Regions from separate parts of the Homo sapiens genome. Here region 1 is linked to region 2. Evidence: promoter capture Hi-C in human tissues and cell types (Jung and others, 2019). All regions are on one chromosome and are shown on one strand. The core of a region is centred on a gene start or on the middle of the fragment in contact, and the rest is flanking DNA. Distances in the headings are between cores, read along the strand shown.

Evidence for each region. Contacts are between HindIII fragments. The study calls those that stand out against the background at their distance.
Region 1: a contact is called between a fragment that was not itself captured here and the fragment with the promoter of SLC39A12 in region 2, in 1 of the 25 tissues and cell types used here (bladder).

What each region holds. Positions count from the first base shown.
Region 1 is chr10:18,465,590-18,468,289 of GRCh38, reverse strand. All of the region lies in intron 3 of CACNB2 (calcium voltage-gated channel auxiliary subunit beta 2), which reads right to left. Among named protein-coding and RNA genes, the nearest start is that of CACNB2-AS1, 72 kb to the left of the region's middle. The HindIII fragment of the contact is 7,793 bases long and covers 1-2,700 here.
Region 2 is chr10:17,950,583-17,953,282 of GRCh38, reverse strand. It overlaps SLC39A12 (solute carrier family 39 member 12), which reads right to left and starts at 1,365. Exons shown (of 13, transcript NM_001145195.2): 1 at 1,258-1,365; 2 at 1-92. The coding sequence starts at 6. The HindIII fragment of the contact is 7,346 bases long and covers 1-2,700 here.

The sequences.
Region 1 (2,700 bases), core at 15-2,514, 520 kb before region 2:
GATGGGTTTTCGCCATGTTGCCCAGGCTGTTCTCAAACTCGAGCTCAAGAAATCGGCCTGCCTTAGCCTCCCAAAATGTTGGGATTGCAGGCGTGAGCCACCACACCTGGCCTGTATATTTAAGTTTTTCAGTAATCCTGAGAAAAATTGGTGTTTGAGCACCCCAGTTCTACAGGCTACTTACTTTCCTTTATTTCTGATCAACATGTGCCTGGTAAAGGTATGCTGTTTACTAATTTTAAGATGTAGGAATGCCATCTTCCTTAAGGCCCAAGTCATACATTGTGAATTCATTCATTTCTTTAATTCACAAAAAAACACTTTTTGGGGACACTAACAATATTGTATGTATCATACTAAGCAGTAGGGGAATTCAAAGATGAACATAACAAAACAGGAAATCAGAATCTTGTAGAGGAGACAGGCTTACAAACAATTGCAATGCATTGTGAGTACTTTAGCATAGTTAAGAACAAAAAATGGAAGTTTTGCAAAGTTGGGGTTGATAGACTGTGCCTGGGGAGGGGTTTAGAAGAGGAGCAAGTTGGCAGCAAAGTTCCCAAGGGAGGACCCATTTGAGTTGGGTTGAGGGGACAAATAAATTGGGCTCCCAGGTTCCTGACTGCCACTGTCAATGGAGAATAGTAAATTATTTTCCAATTTCTCCTACTGCAGCCCACCAGATTCTCCTTCCCTAGAAATCCTGCAGCAATTAACGCGTATGTTAGTCAAATGGCATCTGACATCTACTGTTTTGCATTGCTCTGTATCTTTTACGTAGGTCTAGTCTTACTAGACTGTAAATTCACCAAACTGCAAGCTTTTTGAGGTAGGAACCACCTCCTATTGTTTTCCCAGTTGCTGGCATACACCAGACACCAATAAATATTTGTGGACCTCAAAGTTAGACTTAACACTCTCTGGGAACACAGACAGTCTTCAAGTGTGAAATTGCCAATACTGAATTTGAACACCAGTGTTGATGCCAGTTAGTAAATATTTGAATCTTGTGGCAAAAGGAGAATGCAAAGTGAATTTATTATTTCAATTGAATTACTTTAGAATAGATTATTTCAGAGTTTTCAAAAAATGACAATGTTTTTCTGTTTCATCCTATTCCATTTATTTATTTAACAAACACAGAGTCTTGCTCTGTTGCCTGGGCTGTAGTGCAGTGTTGTGATCTTGGCTCACTGCAACTTCCGCCTCCTGAGTTTAAGCAATTCTCCTGCCTCAGCCTCCCTAGCAGCTGGGATTACAGGCACCTGCCACCATGCCCGGCTAATTTTTGTATTTTTAGTAGAGACAGGATTTCACCATGTTGGCCAGGCTGCTCTCAGCTCCTGACCTCAAGTGAACCGCCCGTCTCGGCCTCCCAAAGTGCTGGGATTACAGGTGTGAGAACCACACCCAGCCTCATCCTATTCCACTGAAAACATTATTTCCACATTATTCGGACATTATTAAATTCCATAGTTTGTTTAGACATGCTTCAATCCGGGGCCCAGTTTATTAACATATTTCTAATAGTTGTGGGTCTGGAACTTGTCTCCCTACCAGGAGCTAGAATTTTTAGATGAAAGATTGTGAAGTCCCATTAAAGTGTGAATCTCTTATTCCTTCAGAAATTGCTAGTATCTACAATGGATTCTCAAATTAACAGCTACAAACGAAATCAATTTTCTTACATCTGCCAAAACACCAGGAGAGAACCTTCTATGTAGGACTTTCATATAATTCAAAAATTAACAACCATGACCAAAAAACCAAGCTGATGAGAAATACAGGTAAAATATTGACAGGCTGAGGCAGGAGCATTGCTTGTGGTCAGGAGTTTGAGACCAGCCTGGGCAACATAGTGAGACCTCGTCTCTGTAAAAAATTTAGCTGGGCATGGTGGTGTGCTGGGACCTGTAGTCCCAGCTATGCAGAAGGCTGAGGCTGGAGGGTTGCTTCAGTCCAGAAGTTTGAGGCTGCAGTGAGCTATGATCATGTCACTGCACTCTAGGCTGGGTGACAGAGCGACACTGTCTCTAAAAAATAAAAAATATATAGATTAAATAGGCAAAAGACGAACTCCAGCTTTAGTGTCTGGAAGTTATAACTCTACTTCAATGGTTGAAAGGTTTTATTTGCTACTTAGGGATTCTTGGCTTCGTGCACCGTAACTGGAATGTCAGATAAGTCATCCCCAGGGTAGGGAGGTGTGCCTGTATGTGTTTGTCAAGTGTTGTCACTCTCTTGGGAGGTTTAGATAATTTTATTAAGTGCCAAAATGTTCAGTAACAAAACCTTTATAAAGAAGTTGGGGCCGGGCGCAGTGGCCCACGCCTGTAATCCCAGCACTTTGGGAGGCTGAGGCAGGCAGATCACTTGAGGTCAGGAGTTCGAGAGCAGCCTGGGAAACATGGTGAAACCCTGTCTCTACTAAAAATACAAAAATTAGCTGGGCGAGGTGGTGGATGCTGTAATCCCAGCTACTCGGGAGGCTGAGGCAGGAGAACTACTTGAACCTGGGAGGCAGAGGTTGCAGTGATCTGCAATCATGCCACTGCACTCTAGCATGGTTGACAAAGGGAGAGGCCATCTTGAAAAAAAAAAAAAAAAGAAGAAGTTGGATGACGTACTTATCTTTGGGATCAACAAGACTAAAAGGGAATGTGGAACACTGTGCTTCCTTTTGCATGCATCCTGGGAGGA
Region 2 (2,700 bases), core at 116-2,615:
GCACATTTCCACGCTTCCTCCACCTTGAGTCTGTCTTGGATGGAGGTGAGTGTGTTGCCGTTTATGGGGTAAACTTGTAACCAAAGGAATTTCTGTGGTAAAGGGGAAAAATAAAGCCTTCAATTATTGTGCCTGCAACATGTTTGAAAGGATTCATTAATTGGGTGGCTAAGCTGATTTGCAATGACAAGCTGTTTCTACACAGCGGGGGTCTGTAGGTAATTTCTAACCCCAAATGGCAGGAAAGCACCATGGCTGTAGACTTTCAAACTGCACAGCAGCCAAAAAGCTTGCTAGATTCTCTCTCCCTAAACTAAACATAGCGTCACGTAAGTTTCTCCATTTACCAACAGGTGGTACAAGTTATAGGACCCAGGTTGGGAAACACCTTATGTTTATCCCATTATAAAGAACTCCAAGTGATTCATGGTCCTCATGAAAAAGAGAAAATAAATTCTACTAAATGACCAACATCATGTTGAGTTTAAAAGTTTTAGGCCAGGCGCGGTAGCTCACACCAGTAATCCCAGCACTTTGGGAGGCTGAAGCAGGCAGATCACGAGGTCAGGAGTTTGAGACCAGCCTGGCCAATATGGTGACACCCCCGTCTCTACTGAAAATACAAAAATTAGCCAGGTATGGTGGCACGTGCCTGTAGTCCCAGTTACATGGGAGGCTGAGGCAGAAGAATTGCTTGAACCCGGGAGGCGGGGGTTGCAGTGAGCCAAGATCGTGCCACTGCACTCCAGCCTGGGCGACAGAACAAGACTCCATCTCAAAAAAAAAAAAAAGAAAAAAGAAAAAAGAAAAAAAAAGAGTTTTAGACAAGGAAAAGCACTAGAAGAAAATAGTAATGTTCAGAAAACACAGGTCTTTTTTTTAGTTTACTAAGAATCAAGATTCTAGAGCAGGAAGCATCTTAGAAAAACAGAATTTCGAGACCTCAAGAACATGACACACACACACACACACACTCACTCAGTGGTGACTAAAGGAGTGGGGGATGACTTTAGAGCCAATCAACTTCCTGGAAAAAAAAATTATCTTTCTGTTGATGGCTTAAGGCATGTAAAATGTTAACAGCATCTCATGTCCGATCCTGGCCCAGAGATGAGCTGGTAAATGACTGTGGGCTAGTAACAAAGGTACTGGGATTACTTTTATGAGTTAAAAACAACAACAACACTTTAAGGTTGTTATGTTAGCAATTTAAAAGTGACAGAGGATGATGCAAGCATTTCTAACCCCAGTGCTTACCTTCAGAAGAAAGATAAACGATTCTTTATCTGGAGCTCCACAGCCTTTTAAATCCTGGAGAGTATTTCACAGTTACAAAGTTCCCTGTTTTTAAAATTCTTTGACTGTGCACTGGGAGCTAGAGAGGATTATTTCAGCCCAGAAAAGTTTTCAGTTGCTATGGAGAGAGCTGCTCTGAAGGTAACAATGAAGGTGGATAAAAGGGAGAACTTTCTGTCTGGTAGATTTTCAAGGTAATCAAATCAGTGTGGTTCATGAATTTAACTTTTTAGATCAAGAATTAACCAATTTTCTTAGGCTCACCTACTGTCACTTGCCTTTCAAGGGACAGAATCTAGGTCAAAGGATTTCACCTCGCAGAATAGAAAGACTTCAGTGTTAGATGAAGATTTTTTCCTCTCCAGTTGATTCTGTAATAACTGTTTCATCCAGGCTCAAACCAAAGATTTGTTGAAAAGATAGGCTCTTTGGAACCATATTTGTTTTGCAAGATGCAGAAGCCTAAAAGATTGAAGTCTTTCGTAATGAGATGCTTTCAAATGAAAAGTATTGGTTGAAGGAATGAAATTCTTACCAGGGATGTAGGTAGCATAAATGAGGAACTTTAATCAGCTGCATATATTGTGATCACCAGCACCGGTGGTAGTTCTTACATCAGATCCTTCATGCTCCTCAAAACAAAACCTCTCAACAAATTATTAGTGAATAAATGACTAAAGGAACAAAGTGGTTCATTTTCTAGGAAGCAAGAGAAGTTAAATCCTAAGATTTCAGAGTGGGCAGAATGCATGCCCACAGTATAGGGGTTTAAGTCAGCTGGTGGGCAGGTAGAGGAAATTTGAGATCAGGATGATTAGCCTCATCACTAATTGTATATGAAACACGGGAACCCTGCGGTAGGATATTCCTGAGAGAATGCTAGTAATGAGAGATGACAACTTGCTAGCAGCCCTGGCTCGCTCTTGGCGCCTCCTCAGCCTCAGCTTCAGCTCTCTCCGTCTTCAAGGAGCCCTTCAGCCCGCCGCTGCGCTGTGGGGGACCCTCTCTGGGGCTGGCCGAGGCCGGAGCCGGCTCCCTCTGCTTGCCGGGAGGTGTGGAGGGAGAGGCGTGGGCGGGAACTGGGGCTTGATCAGAGGCTGAATCCCGTGCGTGGACCAGAACGTTGGCCACGATGGCGGGTCTCCATCTCTTTCTTGCTTCCCGTCTTTTGCTCTTGATTGTCTGGGACGAGCTCCCTCTAGGCTGCTGGAGTGCCCGGGCTAGGTGCTCCGGATAGGTGCCACAAAGTCCCGTGGCTAGTGCCAGTGAGAGGTGAAGCCAGCTGGGCTTCTGGGATGGTGGGGACTTGGAGAACTTTTCTGTCTAGCTAAAGGATTGTAAAAGCACCAATCAGCGCTCTGTGTCTAGCTAATCTGGTGGGGACTTGGAGAACGTTTGTGTCTA